6 separate regions of the Homo sapiens genome follow, and regions 1, 2, 3, 4 and 5 are each linked to region 6. Evidence: promoter capture Hi-C in 16 types of primary human blood cells and fetal thymus (Javierre and others, 2016). All regions are on one chromosome and are shown on one strand. Each heading gives the region's core, a stretch centred on a gene start or on the middle of the fragment in contact. The rest is flanking DNA. Distances are from core to core; before and after follow the strand shown. Region 1 overlaps MED12L (mediator complex subunit 12L). Region 2 overlaps MED12L (mediator complex subunit 12L). Region 3 overlaps MED12L (mediator complex subunit 12L). Region 4 holds the start of P2RY14 (purinergic receptor P2Y14). Region 5 overlaps MED12L (mediator complex subunit 12L). Region 6 holds the start of SUCNR1 (succinate receptor 1).

The links. The method cuts DNA at HindIII sites, captures the fragments that hold promoters and counts their contacts. A CHiCAGO score of 5 or more calls a contact.
Region 1: a fragment that was not itself captured here is called in contact with the fragment with the promoter of SUCNR1 in region 6 in 2 of 17 cell types (M2 macrophages and monocytes); the score reaches 5.6 in M2 macrophages.
Region 2: a fragment that was not itself captured here is called in contact with the fragment with the promoter of SUCNR1 in region 6 in 5 of 17 cell types (M2 macrophages, monocytes, M0 macrophages and 2 more); the score reaches 9.9 in M2 macrophages.
Region 3: a fragment that was not itself captured here is called in contact with the fragment with the promoter of SUCNR1 in region 6 in 3 of 17 cell types (M2 macrophages, monocytes and M1 macrophages); the score reaches 5.9 in M2 macrophages.
Region 4: a fragment that was not itself captured here is called in contact with the fragment with the promoter of SUCNR1 in region 6 in 4 of 17 cell types (M2 macrophages, monocytes, M0 macrophages and 1 more); the score reaches 10.5 in M2 macrophages.
Region 5: a contact is called between a fragment that was not itself captured here and the fragment with the promoter of SUCNR1 in region 6, in 5 of 17 cell types (M0 macrophages, M2 macrophages, M1 macrophages and 2 more). The highest score is 9.2, in M0 macrophages.

The regions. Positions count from the first base shown.
Region 1 is chr3:151,357,190-151,361,211 of GRCh38, forward strand. It overlaps MED12L (mediator complex subunit 12L), which reads left to right. Exons shown (of 45, transcript NM_001393769.1): 20 at 24-187; 21 at 3,285-3,416. The region is part of intron 1 of P2RY12 (purinergic receptor P2Y12); the gene reads right to left. Among named protein-coding and RNA genes, the nearest start is that of P2RY12, 26 kb to the right of the region's middle. The HindIII fragment of the contact is 1,228 bases long and covers 1,277-2,504 here.
Region 2 is chr3:151,320,884-151,325,257 of GRCh38, forward strand. All of the region lies in intron 16 of MED12L (mediator complex subunit 12L), which reads left to right. Among named protein-coding and RNA genes, the nearest start is that of GPR87, 6.3 kb to the left of the region's middle. The HindIII fragment of the contact is 3,707 bases long and covers 491-4,197 here.
Region 3 is chr3:151,341,118-151,345,556 of GRCh38, forward strand. The region is part of intron 16 of MED12L (mediator complex subunit 12L); the gene reads left to right. All of the region lies in intron 1 of P2RY12 (purinergic receptor P2Y12), which reads right to left. Among named protein-coding and RNA genes, the nearest start is that of P2RY13, 14 kb to the left of the region's middle. The HindIII fragment of the contact is 3,309 bases long and covers 1-3,268 here.
Region 4 is chr3:151,277,167-151,281,351 of GRCh38, forward strand. The region is part of intron 16 of MED12L (mediator complex subunit 12L); the gene reads left to right. P2RY14 (purinergic receptor P2Y14) reads right to left here and starts at 1,376. Exons shown (of 3, transcript NM_014879.4): 1 at 1,121-1,376. The HindIII fragment of the contact is 1,068 bases long and covers 2,021-3,088 here.
Region 5 is chr3:151,296,287-151,300,181 of GRCh38, forward strand. All of the region lies in intron 16 of MED12L (mediator complex subunit 12L), which reads left to right. It overlaps GPR87 (G protein-coupled receptor 87), which reads right to left. Exons shown (of 3, transcript NM_023915.4): 2 at 3,781-3,895. The coding sequence starts at 3,814. Among named protein-coding and RNA genes, the nearest start is that of GPR87, 19 kb to the right of the region's middle. The HindIII fragment of the contact is 1,146 bases long and covers 1,652-2,797 here.
Region 6 is chr3:151,871,832-151,875,823 of GRCh38, forward strand. It overlaps SUCNR1 (succinate receptor 1), which reads left to right and starts at 1,812. Exons shown (of 3, transcript NM_033050.6): 1 at 1,812-1,875. All of the region lies in intron 1 of AADACL2-AS1 (AADACL2 antisense RNA 1), which reads right to left. The HindIII fragment of the contact is 8,098 bases long and covers 1-3,992 here.

The sequences.
Region 1 (4,022 bases), core at 641-3,140, 510 kb before region 6:
TTCAGTCTTTTCTCCTGTTACAGTTACTAAATGAACTGAGTGTTGTGGAAGCTGAACTGCTCCTAAAATCCTCCAGCCTGGCAGGAAGTTATACAACAGGACTGTGTGTCTGCATCGTGGCTGTTCTCAGGCGCTATCACAGTTGTCTAATCTTGAATCCTGATCAGACAGCCCAGGTGTTTGAAGGGTTGGTATATAGCATGTCATTGTTGTTTTTCCAATCTCAGAATGTATAACTAGTGATGAAATATTATAGTGGCTTTAAAAGAAAAATAGTACTGATACCTGTTTTAGTTAAAACATGGTTAAAGAACACTCTTGCCAGAAAACATCGATCAAAAAGGTCTAAGCATGTAAAGTATGTTCTTTCTAATAATGTGTGATTCCTTCTTCCCTTCCTCCTTGCCTTTCTTCCCTCTCCCTGGTTTCTAAGTACAAAGCTAGTCATTTATAGCACTCTACGGTTAATGTTGGCCAGCATCCTGGCATATTATGAATAGTGAATGCTGTAACTTCTTTATTCATGTAATTTCAGTTTATGTTTGCAGACTCAACATCAAATAAGCTTTGCATACATTATCATCTTAGAAATTTGGTTCTTCAATTGCATTTCTTTGATTAAAGATATCTTTTGATAAGAATTAACCTAGAACAAATTACTTCATTTTCAGTTGTAGGCTGGGGCTTACTCTACTAATGAAGTTGAGCTACAGAATTAGCTAATACCACCCCCATTAAAGACTGAGGCTAAGGCACCAAATTAGTGTAAATGAGCTCTCAAAAACTTACATAAGCTGCTTTTTATCCACTCTCCAGGGCTTTTTATTTAAACACAGAAAGACAACCTGTTATTTCTTTCTCTTCAGTTTTTCCTTCTGAGCTCAAAAGAATCATGGGGTTCTTTGGTTTTATAGTACCTTTTATTTTTTTAATCTAGCACATGTAATCAATTTATATGCTATCCTAGAATGATATCAATTTAACAGTAGCTATTCTGGGAAAGAGGAAATGCTACCTTTATTTGTATTAATTACATGTTATGAAATGAAATCTGAAACATCCTAAAAACATCAGAATGTAAGAATATTTACATATTAGAATTCAGGAAATAGAGAATTATTTAATAACTCAGCTACTGTATAAAGTTTGAATTTAGTATTATTTTACAGCCCAGGAAATTGAGATTCAGGCCTGTTAAGTGTTTGGTGAAGTGATGTACCCTATATCACATAGCTAATAAATCTCACAGATTTTAATAAAAATCTTTCGAACTGGAAGCTTATTCATGCTGTTTAATCTATGTTCTACTTTTAAAATAGTATATTGAAACCCATTAGTTGGTCATGAAATGAATTTAATGGGTTGTGACAAGTTTTTTTGTTTTTGTTTTTTGTTTTTAATATTGTTATTTTGAAATTGATTTCAGTATCATTTAGTTTGGCCTTGAAAATTTTTATCCTGTTAAATATTCATAAAATCATATTTGACATTAACTTTGTTGTATTTTTACCTTATATTAGTAAGGGTAAGTATTATGCTTAAAACTATTATTTCACTTCTTCGTACTTATGTGAACAGTACACTGGATTACGATGTGAAATGTTTTTCTTATTGCTTGCAAATCAAAGAAGTTGAGGAAACACTGACTACTATACGATGGATACCTAAACCTAACAGACTCTGAATAAATGTTTATTTACTTTAGTCACAAAATAATTTTTCGCTTTATAGATAATATCAGGATTTTGTTTAACTTTTATTTTAGAACAGATTTATTACAGGTTTATTACAAAGGTATATTGCTTGGTGCTGAGGTTTCAGGTTATGATTGAAACCATCAGGAAGTGAGCATAGTACTCAGTAGGTAGTTTTGCAGACCTTTCCTCTGCTCTCTGTCTCCCCACTTCAGTAGTCCCCAGTGTCTGTTGTTCTCATCCTTATGTCCACGTGTACCTCATGCTTAGCTCCCACTTACAGTGAGAATATGTGCTTGGCTTTCTGTTTCTGCATTAGTTTGCTTAGGATAATGGCCTGCAGCTACATCTATATTGCTGCAAAGAGCATGATTTTGTTCTTTTTTATGGCTGCATAGTTTTTGGTTTGCTTGTTTATATAGTTAACAGGTTGAATCATTACTTTTCTTCTTAATTGTGTGACACTTTTGTTCTAATTGGCAGCTTTTACCTGCTGCTAGGTAGTCCCATCTGTTGATGTCATTTCACAGGGTTTGGGATACTACATTGCCATTTCCTCAAGAAGTCTCCTTGGTTCCACCTATGGTACCTGTGATTCCATTGTCCTCCTTGGCCTAGACATCCTATGTTCTCTCCACTTTGCCCTTTCCCCTGAATAGTACAGAGGAGTTTGATCTGGGAGTCTGGAAACCTAAGCTGTTGTCTTGCTTCTGCTAGAACTAGCTCTTTGCCTTTGAGCAAGTCACCCCACCTTTCTGCCTCTCAGAGCCTCCTTTATACAATAAGGATGGTGAATCAGATAGTTTCTAAAGCTTTTTTCGTCTTTAATAATCTGTCATCTGTGACTCCGTTAGTGTAATATAATGGCTGAGCCCTGTAACAAAATACAAGATGGTGATGGAATCAGATGCACAGATAGGTGAATGGACCACAAGTGTTTACAGCTGTGGTGTATGGACTTCTGTGTTGTATGGACTGTGGACAAAGAGGCCTATAACTACAGGAGTTATACAGAATATTACAAAACAGAAGGGGCTTTATCTTCTTATATAAGATAAACTAAAATAAATTTATTACTAGTTGGTATACATAGGGGAATGTATACATGCATAAGGGGAATGTGACTCCAAACCATGAACTGCTTATGCACTTGAAAATGGGTTTTCCAGATTGACTGCTTTGAAGCATTGCTCCTTTACAAAGGAGAAAACTTGGGAATCTTTGCACGCTGATGGAATTTGTGAATCTGCGGAGGCAGGGGCTCTCTACAACAGTTTTCCTTTTGTGTCTCAGTCCCAGCAACTTAATCGGTGGATTCCTCCATACGTACCTTCTTTATGAAGGAATTTCTTTCCTTGCTTTTGTTTCTTGTCATCAGTGACATTTCTGAAGTTTTTTTTAAAATCTATTTCAGTGTCATAATAGAAAAATTATATTGTACTGAGTTATTTACTATTCTATTTATTAGTTTCAACAATCCAATATCCTTTTTCTTACCCAAGTGATACATATTTTCATTCTAAAAGAGTCAAATGATAACCCACATAGTACAAATCTATGTCTTATTTCTTCGTATATTTTTCTCCTCAGGTTGTGTGGTGTGGTCAAGCATGTCGTAAACCCCTCAGAATGTTCTTCCCCTGAAAGATGCATTTTAGCCTACCTCTATGATCTCTATGTGTCATGTAGCCACCTCAGAAGTAAATTTGGAGACCTCTTCAGGTGAGTAGAAGAGACTCAAAAGGACAGAAATAGGATCATGCCTATGTTTGTTAGTGACCCTGACAATATTGTCATCCTTTTGAATAATGAAAGCTAATTGCAATTGTATCTATTAGGCAGTAATTTTGATATACTCATGATTTGTTTAAACTGAATATTAAAATAGACAGGGACAATACACGATAGTCTATTACACAATGTAAATGTGTGATCATAGGTTTTTTTTCCCCCAATATTGAAATGATGTTAGGTCTGATTTTATTTCTTCAATAAATAAAGTATTTCTTAAGATTTTACATTTTCTATATGTTGTACAGACAGTGCATTTTAAGTAAGTCCTACTGAAGTAATGATTATTTGATATATCTTTCCATTTTAAGTTTAAAATTCAATTTGGATTATAAATCTAATAGAAAGATCAATGAGGCAGCTCTTTGTATTTTGCTTTATTTGTATCCCTCTTGATTTTGATATCTACCTTTTCTGAGCTGACTTTTTGCATTACTTGGATTAGCTTTAATATCCTTTGGGCATTACAGTGTTTCATTTTTTATTTCCTGGTGACTCATAGAAGGTTCTATAGCCCCATTCACTTTTCTAGAACTT
Region 2 (4,374 bases), core at 1,094-3,593, 550 kb before region 6:
TGGGCAAAGCATATCTTCTTCTGAAAATGAGCATGGCAATGCCTGCCATGTAGGGTTGTAAAGCTTAAATGAGGTAATCTATTCAGGATAAATATATACAGTGTAGTTCCACAGTGTTTGGAACTTGGTTGGCATTTAAGGGTACAGGAGCACTTTGTCTTTTGTCAGAAGGTGAAGGGAGAGCAAGCGAATGAATGGGGTGTCTGATGCATGGTGGAGTTGGAATGATATGCCTCAGCTTAGAAGTTAAGGTACATCCATAATTTTGGTTGCTTTTAGAAAGCTTCTGGTTTCCTATTAGTGACAAACTGATGATTGCTTGAAATGCTTTTTATAATCTTTTTTGACAGTTTTTTTCTCCTGTAAAGAAGGAAGTTTGGACTTCTTTATTCCAGACTATCTGAAATTGTGGGAATCTATAAAAGCTGAGGTTAGAATATATGGGGAGAGAAGGGAGGTCGTCTCAGTAGGGTTACTGTGTTCAGGATAAAGCTTCATTCATTCACAGTTTGGGCATTTTTGGACTTAGGAAACTCAGTTGTACAGTTAAATAGAATAAAAAAAGACTTAAAGACCAGTGACATTATGTGTATATATGATATAAAGTCAATACATAAAGCTAATATTTTTTTTAAAAAACCCAAAGCTATGAAAGCCTTCAGAAATACATTAGATACAATTAAGATCAACACCAGTAAGTAAAGTCATATACACACATTTAACGTTTAAACTGAAGTTCAAAAATAAAGGTGGACATTCTGTTATTATGCCTCAGGATGTTATATTTGTCAGTTTGAGTTGTATTACAAGAGTGGCAAAAGTTCACATGCTGAGTAAGTTATGTAATTTTTAAAGAACTAGTTTACTTCCTTAAGTCTTAAATTTAATTTCCTTTCTCTTTCATATTATCTTGCCTTTTTCTTTCCCTTTTATCACTCCCCCCAATTGTCTCAACTTCCATTCCTACCATTTTCTCTTAGTGTCCCCATCTCTCCTTTCCTCTGACTTCCTTTCTTCCCATCTTATTTTTTTCTATAAGGACTTCATATTAGAATGAGAATGGAGGCAAGGAAGCAGAAACCCGGGTTACATGGATATTGAAAATATTGATACACCCAGTTTCTGACCAAGGCTGAGTTCTCTGGCCTGTGTGGTTGCACCCAACTGTTTGATTTGTACTTCTCTGTTAGCTATTTCACATGGAACATGTTCACTATGCACATCATAGCATAGAAAGGAATTATTCTACATGTTCATAGAAATCCCTGGGAAAAGCCTAACTAATATAAAAGCTGATTTGTTTCTCCCTGGAAGTCTTTTGAGGCAGGGTCTTGCTCTGTCATCCAGGCTGGAGTGCAGTGGTGTGATCATGGCCCACTGCAACCTCAACCTCCTGGACTCAAGTGATTCTCACACTTTTGCCTCCCGAGTTGCTGGGACTACAGGTGCATGCCACCAGGCCCAGGTAATTTTTTTTTTATTTTTTTATTTTTTGTAGAGTTGCGGTTTTACCATGTTGTCCAGGCTGGTCTCAAACTCCTGGGCTCAAGCAATTCACCTGCCTTGGCCTCCCAAAATGCTGGGATTATAGGTGTGAGCTACTGCATCTGGCGCCCCATGGAACTCTTTTAAACTGACTTATCCATTATGGGAAGATAAGGGTTGCTTCTACTTCCTCACTTCCCATTCACAAACTGGAGCTCACCCCACTTCCACCTCAGAGTTATCGTTGACCTTATAGTTGTAGATTCATCACTTTTGACTAAATTTAGAGTGTATAATTCTGTTGGCTATCTCTTCCTCCTTGAATCTCTCTTGTTCCTTGGTATTCAGTACACTGGACTTCCTGATTCTCCTTTTCTACTAACACTACCCACTCCTCCCAGTTCCAAGGCATCATCCCCTGTTCCTCTTCTGTCTGTTGTGACCATGAGACCTGTGTAGTATGGCCTCTGGGGTTCTCATCTCATTCCTTTTTCTCTCCCTGTCTCAAAAAAGATTATTCCCTAGACCTCTAATCTTAGTCCTATTTTTGGAGCCTGGGTCCATATTTTGGCCCAGCTGTGGGCTCTTTGACCCTAGCTCTTTCACTGATACCTCAAATGGAACATACCCCAAATCCACTTCTGTGATGATGACCTAGCAAATCGTTCAAGCTAACGGTCCTGAGAGAAATCAACCCTCAATTCGAGGAGAAGGGGGTGGAGGCATTATGGATCCCATTGCTAATATATTTTACATGTTAACCACATGTTTTACATAGAGTCCCCCACTTTCAATGGTCTTGGACTCTGAACTTAAAACCTCTCTCCCTGAGAATGTCTGGAAGGTCCATGTCAGATGTTTTCCCCATCATTCTTGCCTGCATACATGGAAAGCCTCTTTAATTGACCTGGCCTCACTGGCTCTTCCTTCAGTCTAGAATCATCCTATAGTTGGTCAATTGATTTTCCTAAAGCACAGCCCAGAACATGTGGTTCTTCACCTTAGAAACCTTCAACGACTCATTAGTGAAGACTAGATGTCCCAGTACAGTGCTTGGCTGTACAGTCCTGCATCTCTGTCCCAAATGTATTCCCTATGTCATGTGCTGTAGGCTCAGGCCCCCTGCAACCCTCACGCTCCAACCACAGCACAGTTCCACCCCTACCTGAGCCTGCCTTGAAACTGCTTATTGTGCCGCAGGGTTCCCTTTTGAATGCTCTGTTTTCTTCAAGTTCCAGTTCAAATTTCCATCTCCTGTGAACCCTTCTTCATTTTCTCCATGTGGAATGAATTGCCTATTCCTTTGAACTTCTGTGGTGTGTCTCTCACACCTCTTATCACATCTTGAGTCATTATAATCTGTGTTCCTTACCAGTGTTCACCTTCTAGAGATGCAAAAGGCCCTGTACCCAAGTTGATGATGAAGGAATGACTGGCTAAATGAACAAATGAATCCACTATTGGGGAGTTTACTCCCCCTGAGCTCTCAAGTGCTGGAGGGACCCCTGAAGTAATTGTAGGTGCCACTATTGCACCATTCATACCCCTGAGGTTGTTGAAGCCCATTCGTGTTGAGACTTCTCTCTTCCCCTCTAAGAAGCCTCCTCATTCTCCCTAGTGGGGCCTTTGAGGAATTCTGCTAAGTCTGACAGGACAGAGAGGCAGTGACCAGAGCAGTTGAGGTGCTGGTCTTGAGACCACCTTCCTGGGTTTCAGTCCCAGCTCTGCCCCATTTGTTGGTGAGTGATGTGCACCATGGGCAAGGTGTATGTTTACTTTGTGCTTCAGTTTTGTTCCTATTTTTAACTAGAGAGCCTAGTAGTATTTGTCTCATAAGATTGTAGTAAGAATTAGAAAAATGATAATCTTTGTAAAGAGCCTGGCACACAGCAGGCATTCAGGAAATGAGTGTGAGCTGCTTGGGTAAGGTCCTGGGAGGTTCTTGTTAGCCTCTAGGTCAGGGCTTATTACCTGGCAGCATCTGGGCTGGTTACTACCCACACAGAAACGTATCGTTTTTGTGGGGTCAGGGAGCATGGGGGTGGCTACGGAAGTTTTGTAAATAACAGGAAATATAGCATGGGAGACTGGAATTGTGAATTCACTTGAGAAAATTAGACCTGAGGTTGTAAATACAGTTGTTAAGAATATGGGCTTAGAAGCCACGTCTCAATTAAAGCCCCATTCCTGCAGATGGCAAGCTCTGTGACCTCATGCAAGTTACTTAGCCTTTCTGTTTCTCAACTTCTTGATCTCTAAAATGAAGATAATAAGCATTTCATAGCCTGCCTGGGATTATTAAAGGAGACAGATGTGCTGCTTTGTTGTTTTGATGGTTCTAGCAATGTGTATTTGGAGAATCTCTCCAGCCGATTCCGGTAGCCACTAAAATTTGCAAACTAATATGGCACATGTGTTCTGTATTCATATTTCCTACATTTGGTTTCTATGTAAAATTTCAAATGTTGAGATGTGTTTCTGGGTGCTTCAAATGATTTGTAAATTCTGCACTTTCCTTAGTAGGGCTACTGTCTTCTAAGTATGTTTTTTCTTAAATAATAGATAATACTGACTTTGGGTTTTTTTGCTCTGGATATTCTGTTAATATCTGTGTGAACTTTGATTTGTTAATTTGCTGAAGGAATACAGTTTATGTCGGGGTAAGAGTTAAGTATTTTAGAAAGAATACCTTGGAAAGTTATGAAAGGCAAAAGCTTTTAAATGGATATGGAATGTAAGAAATAATGGGATTAATAAGATTGAATGATTGTTTTATAAGTTATGACATAATGACTTTATCTACCTTTTGGCTTCCATGAATTGAGAATTCTCACTCCTTCTCTGCCTCATCCTTTCCACTTTACAGTTATCTTCCTTGGTTTCTCAAGA
Region 3 (4,439 bases), core at 364-2,863, 530 kb before region 6:
TGTACAACACTGGGTGATGTATTTTCTTCTAACAAGTAATTATGTTAACTCAAAATGCGTGCTGGCTAGGGATGTTAAGTCTCTGGCCCTTTGTTTTTCCCTTGGTTAATAATGTCATTATTTTAAACCTGTGTTTGATTAACTCCTTTGTAGGTGAAACAGCTTCCTTCTATTATAAATTAGCAGATTCCAAAATTACATTAGAGAAGTGATTGTATCCATTGCCAGGCTTATTATATACTGTGTCGTTCATGCTTTTCTTGAATAGAATTTAAATATAAACAATTTTTTTTTGTTTCTTTACCTAACTTTGAGTTTTTGGGAAAATATAACATTAAATTAAGGCATCCTTGTATCACAATTATTTACAGTTGTTTAACTTTGAAACCAGAAGGGCAAAAAATATGTTAGGGGTGAGATTGAAGGGCAAAGTGTTTTGCTGCTTTAACTTTTTTTTTTTAATTTTATTATTATTATACGTTAAGTTTTAGGGTACATGTGCACAATGTGCAGGTTAGTTACATATGTATACATGTGCCATGCTGGTGTGCTACACCCATTAACTCGTCATTTAGCATTAGGTATATCTCCTAAAGCTATCCCTCCCCCATCCCCCCACCCCACAACAGTCCCCAGAGTGTAGTGTTTCCCTTCCTGTGTCCATGTGTTCTCATTGTTCAGTTCCCACCTATGAGTGAGAATATGTGGTGTTTGGTTTTTTGTTCTTGCGATAGTTTACTGAGAATGATGATTTCTAATTTCATCCATGTCCCTACAAAGGACATGAACTCATCATTTTTTATGGCTGCATAGTATTCCATGGTGTATATGTGCCACATTTTCTTAATCCAGTCTATCATTGTTGGACTTTTGGGTTGGTTCCAAGTCTTTGCTATTATGAATAGTGCCGCAATAAACATACGTGTGCATGTGTCTTTATAGCAGCATGACTTATAATCCTTTGGGTATATACCCAGTAATGGGATGGCTGGGTTAAATGGTATTTCTAGTTCTAGATCACTGAGGAATCACCACACTGACTTCCACAATGGTTGAACTAGTTTATAGTCCCACCAACAGTGTAAAAGTGTTCCTATTTCTCCACATCCTCTCCAACACCTGTGCTGCTTTAACTTTATGTAAATATTGCTTTGCAGAAACACACCTCCCTGGTGTCTCAAACTGCAGTGTCCTTCTGTTATCAGTGGGAATCATTTGTGTTGGTGCCTTTGCTGTGAACACGTTTTGGTTTTTTCTTCTGCGTTTTGAGTATTTGTCTATGTCTTTACATGTTAAATATCTTCATTGGTTTTCACAGTGCAGAGCAGCAGCTCTGCATCACTTGGGAACTTGCTAGAAATGCACATTTTTGGGCACCAATCTAGCTGAGTGAATAAAAAACTCTGGGGTGCCCCACCCTGCATCTGTATTTTAGTGAGCCTTCCATTGATGCTTGGTACACTCAAATGTGAGGACCACTGATTTAAATGGAATAAGAATTTTGTTGCCATTTAGAACTTGAAGCTATTAATATCAGTCACTTCAGACACATAATAATCCCCAAATGTTGGTCATCTTAAAGGGATTAGTTTGATATTAAACTCTTGGAAAGGGTTGTATTGTTATTTTTAAATATGACTATTGTAAACAAATCTTAGCCTTCCTTATTTGTTGGAGTCTCAAAATTTTAAAAAGAGCTTTTATGCTGTATGTACTTCAAATAATAATTGTCAATATTTAATTTCTTACACTGTCATGGATTAACTCACTTTATTAATAATCTCAACTATTCTCTGAAGTACGCGTATCATCCTCATTCTCTGGATGAGGGGAACTGAAGAGCAGAGCAGTGAAGTTAGATGGAGACCCCATTCTGACCTGTGCTGTCTAGTTAGCCTTAGAATCTGTATTTGTGTATTTCTGTACCTGAGAATCTTTCCCTATCACACCCTCTCCTCAACCCCTCTCCCACTAAGAGGCCCCAGTAGTGAGAAGTGAATCTCGTGTGGGATGGTTGTACGTCTTTCAATAAAATAAGGACCATACTCTCCTTTACAGCAAATTGTAAATGCTAAAGGATGTTTATGATGCTTTTTCTAAGACCATCAAATGAAACAAGGCTTATTCAAGAAAATGATTATTTTTAACAAATCAATCTGCCATATTACTAATTCAGAATACTTAAGTCATACTACCTTATTGAGAATTTATATTTCTAAACCTCTAGAAGGGCTAACAGTAGAGATTTGAGGGATAAAAGAAGGGCTTCAGTTCTTGATCTAAATTAACTTTATTTTTCCTCTGATTTTTAACTCACAACCACATACCTATTTACAAACCACCTCTGATAACATTTTTTCATTGGAGGAAGACTGCCAGTTAGACCACTTAATGCTGAAAGTGACTAAAATCTTTAAGTGAAAAGTATCTCAGTTACAGAAGTATATTTTCATATGAATAGAAGCAGAGCAAGTTATAGATACTTTAATCTCTCATTAGTAAATAACATCAACACATACAGTTTGTAGTTATTTGTGTTAGTGTTGGGAACAGAGCTAACTTTGGTTGGTTTGGTTATTTTGTATAATTGAGATGAGTTAGAAAAATGAACAGAATTTTTACTTTTAAGTGGCTTAACTGGTTTGTTTATTTTACCAAGTCTACTAAAGGTAGTCTGCTCATCTGAAAATGTTTGCTTCAAATGGGATTACTCTGAAACCTGTAGTCTTTTGGAACTGGGCAGGAGGATAGAGATATAATTATGACATTTGATAGCTCTTAGGCTGTTTTAGTTCCAGTGGTCTCTGGTTCTAAATGTGGTCATTTTGACATTAATATTTTGTTTGAGGGTGTGTATTTTAAAGCAGTGCATAGTCATGTCTGCTAGCTTGGCTTTATCCATTGGAATATAGAAATTTAGGTTAGATACCAACAGGTTCCAAAAGTAACGAGTCTTGGGCATTGAAATATTTCGCAAAAATGAATGCCGTCTTTTGTGACCTAGTTATCTGACATCCCAGTCTTAAGTGTTCTGCTTGCAAGAAGAGGACTAGTAGATATATAAATATCAGTCATACTGTGGACTATAAGCTGTGTAGAACAAAGATTTAATATACAAATGTAGTTAAATCCGCCTCCTATTTTCTTGATTTACAGAAAATATACTCTATGTATAGTTACTAATGATTAAAAAAAAACCTGTTAATTTCTTCATTCCTGTAACAGTTTCCTCATCCATGTGCACACCCATTCTTCCTCCCAGGCTCGAAGCTTATTCCTGATGGAACATTTATATGAACTTGTTTTATTCTAAACAAAATAGCATGGTATATTGAAAGATACAGCTGAAAGAAATAGTGTTTTAAGGCATCTTTTAAGAGTTATTTAATAAGCTAAAAATTTTAACTAAATGCATTTATTGTTTCTAAAGACTGGTTTTTACTGCTTTTCTTAGAGACGTGATAGGTTGCTATGTGCAGTTTACTTCCGGATATATACTGGATTTGCATTTGAAGTAGAGCATGCAAAAATTAGGAAGTACTGGGAAGTATGAAGTGCCATATTTTGTCTTATCAGAAGGACAATTACATCCACTTCATCTGTTTTTATTAGTGTTTGGAAGAAAGGAAGCGCATTCTGAGTGAGATCTTTTTCATTTTTCCTTAAGGACATTAGTAATTTAAAAATTCTATGATAATTGAATCATTGTTGAAATATCAGAAAATGTGAGTAAGGTGAAAGGATAATACACAGCTCTGATCATCTTACCATCATTATGACATCTTTGTCAACACATACACATTTTGGCAAAATTTCTAATCAGTTATTTTAAAGAAATAAAGATGAATTAGAGCAGACCTCAATTCCTTTAACTCCATTTCTTCTTTCTAAGGACATTTGGCTCAAGAGACATATTTTAATTCGTGTAGTACAACAAGCCTGCCAGGGTTTTGGGCATGCATGTTTCTAGTTTCTTCATCTATTAAGTTTCTGTGAGTATGAGATAATATCTGGAGAAAGAAAGTAATTGATCTAAAGGACGAGATTTTTAGAACTTAGTTTACATGGGAGATGACACATTCAATTCAATAGCAGCAGGTGGACTAGGATAAAAGAGGTAGCCTGACGTCTCCTGTAACAGACTCTCCAGTTGATGCTTTTCCTTGTCCAACAACTGTATCCTTGAGGGAATAAACAAGAGTAATTTTTGGGTGTTTATCTCAGATTATTAATATTACTTACAACTGTGCAACTTGAGGGCGTTTAAACACCAAGTTGAAAGAGCAGAAATCGTTGATACTTTTGAAAATATTTGGTATATTTTCTTAGGTTGACTTTATTCTCATTTGTTATGAATTGCTATTTGAAGGCTTCTACGTTTTCTTTCTTTTTTCTTTTTCTTTTTTTTTTTTTTTTTGAGACCAAGTTTTGCTCTTGTC
Region 4 (4,185 bases), core at 1,305-3,804, 590 kb before region 6:
GTGCTGGGATTACAGGTGTGAGCCACCATGCCTGGCCTCCTTGTTTTTTTTTTTTCCAGACATGACAATATAGAGTTCATTCATATATACCAATGTGTTAATTGTGTGCACACAATTGTATGCATGTTTGTATATATAGTATTCATAAATTTTACCGAAATATAAAATTCATTGCATGTTTACAAATCATAAAATATGCCATTTTGGTATTTTCCGAGTGCATTGTTTTCTTTTTAACTTAATGGCTAGGTTTTTTTTTAGTGCTAAAACTGATTATCAAGTTTGTATGTTTTAGAAAGATGAATATACAAACTATTTATTTTTTTACTAGTGTGATCTTTGATTCATTTTCTCCGTAGGATTGATTGTCCTTGGTTAACAAAGTATATGTAGACAAGATGGATTGCATGGGCTTGGTTGAATAAGCTGACATTGTGGGTCTGTGCTAATTCTCCTGAATGTAATTTAATTTATAATGTTTAAAGAATTGTAAGTAATTTAGCTGATTAGTCATAGACTATAAATAAGTAGCATATGAACTCAAATATTTGCTATGCCTAGGACAGATATTTCTGTGATTTACAATTTAAAGGCATTTTATTTTAGTAGGTGTTAATGGGGTTAACTTATCCTAATAATGACAAAGATAAAAACTTTTACCTATATAAGTGTATGTACAAGTAAATGCAACTATATATCTGTACACATATGCAATTGCAAACAAAGACATACTGACCTAAGTATTATGCTAATCGATTTTGTAGTTTTGAGAAGCAATTTTAATACACATTTACGAGCTTTTGAAATGTTTGTCCTGGATGAATACCTTTTAAACATTTTCCTTGATATCTCTTCATCACAGATATATTTTGACAGCCACGATTGGAAATCCTAAATCATAAATGATAATATTTCAGTATTGGATCCCCATATTAGCATGGGGAAATATATTAATATACCAATTATAGTTGTCAAACAAAAAGTAACCTACTGAGAAAAATGTGAGTGGCAATGGTTCAGTGTTCCTCAGCTTTGTTGCTGCCCAGCTCAGAAATCTTTTCTGTTCCCATGCACCATTCACATACATGCAAGTCATTTCATGGAAAAGCTGTTTTCTTACCTGCGTCTAGGCCTTCATCTGTGAGAGTCATGCTTCACTCATTTTGAAATACCTCTCATTGTAGGCTCCAAGGTAACACTGTTACAGAGTTCTTGCTCATCTTCAACTACGGATGAAAATCAGGAACTTGACAGAAACCACAAGATAGTGGGTCCCTCTGCTGCTGTTGTCAGATAGAATTTATTGAAGACTGGGACGTGGAAACAAAGAGGAAGGAAGAGACGTTTTAATCTCTGTGGGTGTTAGGCTGACTTCTGAGCTAGTTCCTTTCCTCCAGTAATGCAAAAACAGTCCTGCTTTCTTATTTCTCCTCCTACTTTTCCCCACATCCCTACATCATCTGATGCACAGCCAGGCAAAAACCTGTTTTCTTTTCTAACCTTTGCCATTGTCAAATTCAACATGTGGTATGAGGTGGAGAACTGATGTGTAAGATATGGTTCTTTCTGAAGCACCCTCAGAAAATTGTCAGCAGCTTCACAGTATAACGTGCAGAGATGGGTAGTTGGAGCTACCTGGAAATGCGGAATTAACAGAATAAAGAAGTATTTTGACACCAATGTCGACATATTCTAGATAAGAGGTGTTGCATTGTCATTTTTCCCACATTAATTTTCCCATATTTGAACATTACTGATAAATAGATCACAAGTAGGACTTCAGATAAACTCCTCGTGTGTTAACATTTTGGTGTTTGTGCTGTGTTACTATTTTGAAAGTCTTCATATTTTTAGTTCCTTTCAGGCTCTGTAATATAATTGGTGATGTCCTGCAGTGCTCCACTGTCTTTCCCATTGACTATTAGTGCCATTAGATTTGGAAGTTTTCAGAAGATGGCTACAAAGTCCTCTTCAAAGTGTATAACTCAGAACCAGAAAGAAAGAAGACAAGGGGCTGAAAAGCTTACTTTATAAGGTTCCTGCATTTTAAGTGTATTTACTTAGGCTGTTCCATTGCCAAATTATGGGTAACAACTAGTAAAGTTCAGCTTGCCTTAAAAACATAGCTATACATTTAGTTATAATAATTATAACTGGCTTATGACATGCCCGTTACTATTCTAGTTGCTTTATATGTACTTGCTACGTAGGAGGCAGTGTTCTGGACATTGGAGATGGAGTAGTGACTGACACATACCCAAACAGTTATTTCCCTCATGAAGAGTATTTTCTTACTTTCTGTCTCACAGACTTGCTAGTCACTGTTGATCCTTGGCAAAGACCTGTGAGACACAGAGCTTGTTTAGAGAAGTTCGCCATTTCTCCCTGCCAGAGGGACTCTTCTTCAGACCCCCAGCGGGCCCCAATAGTCCTCACTGATGCTTTGATTGAGGGGCTAAGAATACTGATGTGCATAGAGAGGCTTGTTAGCTTCAGCTGCAGTGAGATCTGGTAGGTAAATAAACTTAAGGACAAGTGGATGTGAGGAGGAGCCGCTAGAGCCTGGTTATTACCAGGGCACATTGCAGAGTCCTCCAGATGTAAACATTTTGCTGATTAAATTGATGATTTGGCAGGAACCGTATCTCTAAGGTGCGACTCTCAAGACTTCCCTGATTTATTGCAGGAGATGCTGTTTACTCTGACAGTCTCAAAAACACCCATTAATTGTTCCGGGTCCCTTTTGTGCTTCTTGACTTCCCCGTGGGGTGTTTCACATAGATGTTATTGAGTATGACTGGGGAGAACATGATAATTTGTTGCTTCTTGACTTCCCCGTGGGGTGTTTCACATAGATGTTATTGAGTATGACTGGGGAGAACATGATAATTTCTTTGACTGGAGCTGCTTGCTTGCCTCTTAATGCCAGGAGTTGCAAAGTCCAAGGCCAAAAGGATAGCCCTACAGGTGGTCCCCTCGTGGCAGGTGGTACAAATGGGTTGGACTCTGTGTAAGACACTTGGGAGTAGAGGGAGTATGGAGAAATGGAAAGCTAAAGGGCCCACCCAGGGGGACAGTTGTGTCTGGAAGCTTGCCAGAGTCATGGGCCTCATCTTGGGATGGGCCAGTGTCTTCAGAACATTAAACGCTGATTTGCATGTACTGTTCTAAACACTCTGTGTGTTTTAGCTTGATTACTCACAATGGCTCCATGAGTAAAGTAGGTCTGTCTACTACTTCTTCCCCACCTTTTTCTTAATAGACAAGGAAACTGAGGCATGGAGATGTTACATCAGGTTGCTGGAGCTGGGCAGATCCTGGAGCCTGTGCACTGCTACTGCCTTTATATGTCTCCTCTGATTTCATTTGTTGGTGTCTAAATCGAATACCTTACAAACCAGTGTAGACCTGATACCCTGTGGGCTAAAACAAAACCTGAGTGTGCACTGTATTGGGCTTGTGAGCAGTCAGCTTGTGACCTCTGTTCTGTGGTTTTATTGGCACGTAGCAGTACAAGGATGGTGAGGGGTGGGTAGGGGGCAGACAGCTAGGCACTTGAAAGGAAAGCTCATCTGGAAAGATTGGATCGTCTCAAATGCACATACTCGTACACTCGATTGAAGCGTACTCTGTGCCTACTAGATCTTTTCACAGCCAAAACACCTGGCAACCCTTGGAGAAGTAACTATTCCTTTTTTTCACAAGTAAGAAAATAGAGCCTCAGAAAATTTAACAGTTGTCTAAGCTAGAAAGTAGCAGGACTGGACTTTGAAGTAGTCTTTAGGTTGTGCTGTACATTTTGTGGATATGCTTAAATCACAGTTTAGCTTGTACACATTTTCCTTTATTAGAATTGGAAGTAAGTATTAATGTTTGAAAAAATATTTTAGCCTGACAATATTTATTCTATCTTCATATGTTTTTGAAATTAGATATTTTAAACTAGGCACGGTGGCTCACGCATGTAATCTCAGCAGTTTGGGAGGCCGAGGCAGGCAGGTCACAAGGTCAGGAGCTCCAGACCAGCCTGACCGACATGGTGAAACCCTATCTCTACCAAAAATACAAAAAAAAAAAAAAAAAAAAAAAAAAAGTTAGCTGGGCATGGTGGAGTTCGCCTGTGATCCCAGCTGCTCAGGAGGCTGAGGCAGGAGAATCACTCGAACCCGGGAGGTGGAAGTTGCA
Region 5 (3,895 bases), core at 975-3,474, 580 kb before region 6:
GGTCATGAGCATTTGACTTATGTGGCAGCCATGGACATGGGCCTCTCATGTCTCCTACTGTGGGGAGCATGATGGACAGGTAGCTCCTGCTGTGGATCCACCACCACATTCTTGCTGCTGCCACGCTTCCCGCGGACTGCTCCAGGCCTGTGATTGAGCATGGCAGGGACACCAAGACAAACCTGTTTTTGTAAGAGGAGGGGTTTCTCTGACAAAGGACTTTGGCTGGAGGAGTACTTACCAGTCTTCAAACCTTTTCTTTGAACTTTCTTCAAACTGCACTGTTCCTACTCAATCTTCCTTCCTTCTTTCTCCCACAAGTGGTTGGAAGGCTGTGCCAGCCTTCTGCTTGTCCCCATTTTCCCTGGTAGCCATTTTCCCCAGTAAATCTCTTGGCCATTTAAGCACATTTTATCATCATTATTTTTGGGGAACCTGAACTAATGGAATTAATTTATAGATTCACCTTTTGGAGGTAAGGTTAGAAGGAAGATCATTTCTCAATTTTTACTTCCCTGTAATTAATAATATTTACTATAGTTATAATTATGTTTTGGAATGGTTTTGTTATAGAGATAACACCATGAATTTAAGCCCTCACTGCCCTGCACACAGGCAGTTTAGTGTCTGTTTTGGTTCCCTTCTTTGAGGAGAGAAACAGGAAAGTTTTGATGATTAAAATCCAAAAACAGATTCCTAAATTGCTGCTTGACATCTAAGTGCAGGCTCTTCCTAATTCTTTCCCTTTTATTCCTTACCATGAGTGTTTTTAAAAACTGGTTTCCCTGACCTAACTATCCTTACACAGGCTAGTAATTTATATCTGGACTAGCCTGTTATGAGACCCATAGTATTACTAAGCTTTACAAGTTAAAATGCCTGATTCAGCAGCCATCTATATCACTGCTGCCAGTTTGTAATATTTCCTTGTACAGTATCATTCAAGCCTATTTTGATTTAATGACGTGTTGTAGTCTTGGCTGTTTTTGCATCATAAGATCCAAATCAGTATCAGTGACGTTAGGAACTTCTTAAGATGTGTGGCTTTAACTGAGTTAAGATGTCTGCTTGAATTAATTTACCCAATTAAATGATTAGCAGTCACTTTCATCTAACCTGGGATAGAACTCTTAGGGAAATAGAGAGAGGACATGTGAGTTTAAATCGGAATAAAGGGTCCAGCTGAGGGACACAGCCTGAAAAGGAGCAGCCATGTCATCTCTTGAGGTGCTGGCTGTGCCTTGTAACAATTACTTATGAATTGCTTTTCAAAATCATTTTAAATACAAATATATTAGTTCATGAGCTACAGCATACTTGGCAGGGAATATTTCAACTGCTTGTGTTGGCTCCCTGGGGATCTGCTATGCATACCTATCGTGGAGTGCAAGAACCCCTACTTCACAGTGTTGCTTAGGGATATGAGTTCCATATATCATTATAATATTTTAAAGTTTAATTATATGAACACATTCTTATTAAATGATGATATTGATGATGATTTTGCCTAACAATTATGGTTATTATTAAAGATAGTCTCCAATCAGAATGTCAAAAAAGGTTGTGTGTGTGTGTATACATATATACATATATATATATTATTACTCTCCTGGTTATTACTTCATTCACAAATTTCACATTTAGGCAGCAAAGCTTAAACAAATTAGTGGTTAAAGCCTGTTATGGGTTATTTGCTGAAACAATATGGTAGTAGAGACAAAAAATGGTTTGTAAGAAGCAGATGAGCCATTACTCATCTGGTTGCTCTGGAAGGCTCAAAACTTAACTTTGAGAGTTTCGTGTGATTAATTTGTTTTTTAGAATTAAGTTTATATCACATTCTTTTTTGCCAGCTAATGCCCATCATTTATTCTCTATCATTGCCTTAAATATTTCCAAAACGTATAGGTGTACTCAGAAGCATTTCTCTATATGATATTTCCACTCAGGAATATTGACCAGTAAAAGTGAATGGCTTTCTTCACCCAGGCAGTTTTATCATGTTGTTCTTCCCTGACAGTAAAGAACTTGGCCAAGTTAGGAAACATCTTTAATTGACAGTAGCTTGGTCATTCAGTTAAGAAAAATTAGAAGCTGTTTTACAGTGTAAAGGCTGTTTTCTCGCAATATGTGCATGCAATGTTGGATATTATCAAACATGATTTCCCCATCCCTTCTTCTTGTTTACTAGGGTGGTATTCTCTGGATTGTATAGTGCAGGGCTTGACACAGAGCGATAATTGAGAGTAAAACCTACTTTGGTATTCTCTCTGACTCTCATTCCAATTCCTTTTAAATTAACAAATGCAGTGACATAACTCAGTTTACTAGTTCCATAGTAAATTATTTTGTGCCATGTGTGAGGGTGGTATTTGTTTGGGACGTAAGGGAACTTTGGCTGTCTTTGCCGGGGGGAATAGGTTTGTGCATGTGTGTGTACAGGACTGAGTGTGTGTGTTGGGGAATGCTTGGGCTTTGTAGCCAGATATAGCACAAACCACATGTGGCTTTAAACTTTTAAATTTAAATTAAACATAATTTAAAAAATTAATTTCCTCAGTCATACTAGCTACGTTCAAGTTTCCCGGTAACCACATCTGGCTACTGTATTGGCCAGTGCAGATACAGGGAATTTTCATCAATGCAGAAAGTTCTATTTGACAATGCTGGTTTAGCCTCTTAATAACTGTAAAATGGAATACATAGCTGTCTTGCTGGATCTTCTGAGAGTTAAATGCTTTGCAAACATTTTGACTACAGTATCTAGTACTTAGTAGGTATGCATTCTATAACATAAAGCTTAATTACCATTTCTCTTGTTAATAGAGTCACATTATGAATGACAGAGTAGGGAAGAATCTGCCACTTTTGCCTTTGGTGAAGCTACATCATTGTTCACTGGGACGTGACACTTGGCACAAAATGTGAAAGTCTCAACATATGTCACTGCTCTACCTGCCAGGTGGGAATGAAATAATAAAAGTCATTCAAATTATAGGGTGTCACTACCAGGGCACAGCTGCCTAGGTCGGTCTTTCTTTCTTTCCTTCTTTCTTTCCTTCCTTCCTTCTTTCTTTTCTTTTCTTTTCTTTTCTTTTCTTTTCTTTTCTTTTCCCCTCCCCTCCCCTCCCCTCCCCCTCCTCTCCTCTCTTTTCTTTTCTTTTCTATTTCCTCTCTCTCTCCCTCTCTTCCTTTCTTCCTTTTTTTTCTGATACAGAGTCTTGCTCTGTCACCCAGGCTGGAGTACAGTGGTGCGATCTCAGCTCACTGCAACCTCTGTCTGCTGGGTTCAAGCGATTCCAGTGCCTCGGCCTCCTGAGTAGCAGGGACTACAGACGTGCGCCACCACACCTGGCTAATTTTTTGTATTTAGGTATGATCATTTTCCAAATAGTTACCCAGTAGATTAGGTAGATGTTATCTCTGGCCTCTTGGGGAACCTCATGAACCTTGGTTTAGACTATTAAATCTGGAAAGTAATACGTAATTTTAGTTTGTGTTTAAAATCTTCCATAAATATTATTAATTTAATCCTACTTGTCATTTTAGAGATGATGTCTAGATGAAACAAAGTTTAAAACAAAATGATAGCAAGCTAAATTTATCTCAGCGATACTGTCCTGCATGTTTGCTGTTTTATACATAAGGAAACACAAAGCTAAATGCTGGTTTATTTTGTTAGTTGGTTCTCTGACCATTAAACTCCCCAAATTCCCAAACAGTGGAAATAATAGTCATCAATAAAGTAAGATTTTCTTTGTATCTCTTACGACGGCTTACTTGGTAATTTTGCAAGCGTCAAGTTGAACCCCATTCTTCAGTTGTGATGCACTGTAAGCAAAGATGCGTGTCAGGAAACACTTGGGGACGATTGAGGCGTGGGTTCAGCATAGGT
Region 6 (3,992 bases), core at 562-3,061:
GTCTAGATGACGTGTTCTATGAAAAAGGAGAAGCATAGACCAATTTTTGTCTTAGCAGCCAGAGTGAGATGGTAGTCAGGAAGTGGGACGAAGAAAGAGGAAGCTCTCGGGAACTCCCACCACCCCACAAAGGGGGAATTACTCTTTTCTTCCATCAGAATGGTGGCAGAAACCTGTGAAATACATCCATTTGTCTTTGTTTCTTGGAAGGGGTTCATGTTAATTTATGTCTAAAATTAACAAGCCTGGCATTGGTTATTCAAATGCTTTTTGCCCTTTTAAAAATATAGACAAAAATAATGTTTTAACCTTTCTTCCTTCTAAAAGTAGAAAAGAATTGCATTACTGAAAAATACCTGTTATTAATTCTTAGACTTTGTTGTGCACAAGGGTATTGTCATTCAATTCTGTAGGCAGTCAAGAATCAGAGTCGGTGCTTTTAGAATCCAAGTACATAGGCTTAAGCTCTGGTCCCTCCCGTTATTGATTCTGCAATCTTGAGAAAGTTAATTGACCTCTCTGAACCTTAGCTTTTTAATCTGCAAAATGAGAAAAATCTTAAATAATAACAACCTCAGAGGATTACTATATGCATTTGATGCATAAAGGTACTTAGTGTAATACCTGCCTGCCACATCACAAGAACTCAACAAATTATAGATATTTTTATTTCATGTAAATGCACATGTTTGTATACATAAATATTCATACATGTATAAATATATTTTACACATGTATATAAAGTGTGTAATATAGACACATATGTATGTATATATGTATGTGTATATATACATACATATATTTTGAGTTCCTGAGTTTTTAAGCTGTCAGATATTGGTGAGGAGAAATGCTTAGTTAGGAGGATGCCTGTAACAGAGCTTCTTTTTGGGCTTCTGCCTGTCATTGCTAACTCAATATTCAACTTACATAGCATTTAAATTGAATTACTGCTGCCTGCACAATTATGGGCTTTCTTAGTATAATCCCTATGCTTCACATCAAGAAGACTGAGTGTTTACTTGAATCTAAACCTAATATAATGCTTGGAAAAAGCCAGGTGTGCTTCCTGTCTGAAATGGTGGTAATGTACTTCCAGATGTTTTTCAGAGCATTGATTGGGATATATAAATTGCCATCTATTAAGGTTATTTTACTTAGCATCTCTCTCCCTAATCCCTAGCTATCTGATGTATCTTTTATGTGTTTCTTGATTTTAAGCACAGAAAATAAAATGGAAAATAACTTGAAGCTCTAGTATCTTTTTGCTAGTACACCAACATAGCATATATCCAGGTTTCCCTTTAAAATTTCAGTTTTATAGTTCCCTCAAAGTTATTGAAAACAGAGGTTTCGTTATTATATTCTCAATACAGAATTCACTAAGAAAATTAATTTTAAAAAAGAAGAAAAGCAGAGGCAACTGTATTCCCAATATAAGCAGTATTTACCACTTCTTATTGTGTAAATATGCAAATAAAATGAAAATAAGGAATGCTTCTCTGTTGCTTTGGTAGTGGATAAAATAAGTTCAACAGTGTTTTTCTAAAAATCTATTTGGTAAATGTGTTTCCTGTGAAATGAGTTACTTGTTTTTTGTCATTCAATTGCAAAACTGCATGTGAAAATAAAATAAATGTGAATGTGAAAATAAAAGCCTCACAAAAATTCCTCTGCATGAACATCTCTGACTGGGAGGTTTGACTGAATAAATTATTCCTGGGCTTTTGAATTATTAATCTTGGCTGCAGGATATGCAAATAGGATATGCAAATAGGACACTGTAATAACCATGTCCAGTGGCACAACACTGGGTCAGAAGCTATATCCAGCTGCTGGCAGAGTTCCTGTCAAGGGATCAAGTCTTCCAACAGAATGGTAAGCTACATGGCAAATTGTGCCTCTCAGTGTATAAAGTAAGGCCAGATTTCCTTCTAAAGGTGACCTGTGAGCAATTAAGGTTTTCAGTATTAAGTGTTTAAATTAATTCTTTATAAATAGATGTAAAACAGCAAAATAATTGAAAAAAAAAAGTCATTTTTATCTCTACGTTTATTTTTCAACAAATTAACTGTCTTCTTTTAGTTGTCAAATACTAATTTTATTTTATGTAAAAGGATTTATTATATTTGCTAACATCTCAACAACTTATATTTCAACAAAATAGTAATTGGATTTACCTAAATAAATATAACTACTTATGGGGAAAAATTAAAGTTCCTAAATGATTTGAAACAATCATGTATTTGATACATACACACACACACACACACACACACACACACACATATACATACATATATATATATATATATATATTTTTTTTTTTTTTTTTTTTTTTTAAGACAGAGTTTCACTCTTGTCACCCAGGCTAGAGTGTCTGAGTGCCAGAGTGACACATTTACAGCATGTGTTGGCTCACTGCAACCTCCGCCTCTGGGGTTCAAGCAATTCTCCTGCCTCAGCCTGCAGAGTAGCTAGGATTACAAGCGCCCACCACCACGCCCGGCTATTTTTTTTGGATTTTTTAGTAGAGATGGAGTTTCACCATGTTGGTCAGGTTGGTCTCAAACTCCTGACCTCAGGTGATCCACTCATCTCGGCCTCTCCAAGTGTTGGGATTCCAGGCATGAGCCACTGTGCTGGGGCATAATATTTTTATGTTTAGAAAATAATGTATTTGGGGGAATTTTCAGGCATCCTAAAAATTAAATTTAACATTTATGTGTGTAAAAATGATATTACCCAATAATTAATTTACTTAGGAAAAATGAAAAATTGCAGAAACCATTTCTATTCTACCTTCCATAACTTTTCAAAATGTGTGTGGTATTCTTAAAGAAGTTAATACACAATTTGTGCCATACTATTACTTTTTAATACCTTAATTTCTGGTGTAATGTATGGAATACATAAAAATAAAGTTACAAATGTTAAATTATTATATCTTTTCAGTGTGAATATATATTTTTGCTCAAATTATTTAGTAATCAAAAAAGTAATTTGTTAAAAAAAATTCTCATGTTACCATGTAAATTTGCCTTAAGGTAGCACTTAAAAGTAAACATTTTACAAATGTTATTTGTTTAATTGTGATGACTATAAAAACAAACAATTAAAAAGCTAAGAAACTATCACATATATATTTTAAAGTAAATTTCAAAAATGCAGATTTTCAAAAGGCTGAATATATTTAAAGTAAAAAACATTTTCAAGTTAAGTATTATTGGTCTGCTTATGTGAGTAAATTAGATATTGCTTCTAGTTCAATAATTCTAACAGTTTTAGATATATTTTTGGACTGGAAACTAAAGATTTCACTTTAATTTCTGCTCTTAAAAAATACCTATTCAAAATAATTCATCCAAATCAGTTACAATTTATTTATCACTATTTCCATTTCCTAAAAATTAAGAATATAGCCACTAGATAGCAGAAGAGAGAATATGAATTTTTCATGAGGGAATTTTCTCTTTAATTGGGAGTTTTGCTTAAAGGAGCAACTTACTTCATATGTTTATAGAATTGCGATGCCACACTAAAAACATACCCAACTATAAACATATCCAATTTGAAATATAGTATCTTCAAAATTTTGTATCCTAGTGAAGTTAAATTGGTCTGCAAATATTGCACAGCTCATATTTATAAAATCATAATCTATTAGAATTATGAACTTAGAAAAAATGAAACAAATGTATCAAAAAATTATAAAACATCATAAAAAAATCTCATTTTTATGAATAAAAATTCAGGTAAATATTAAAATGTAAAAGGGTACCCAAATATTAGGAGTGGTCTGTTTACAGACCATTTTTATTTCTTATTTTTGCCTATTTGATTTTATGAGTGTTACACCTTAACAATAATTTTACACATACATTTTTAAAAAGTTGTTTCAAAAAAATGAAGAAACAACTGTATGAGAAGAAAGACAAATATGATAATTTAGTCATTCATTTCTCTTATTTCAGCTCTACTCCTTCCCTACTACT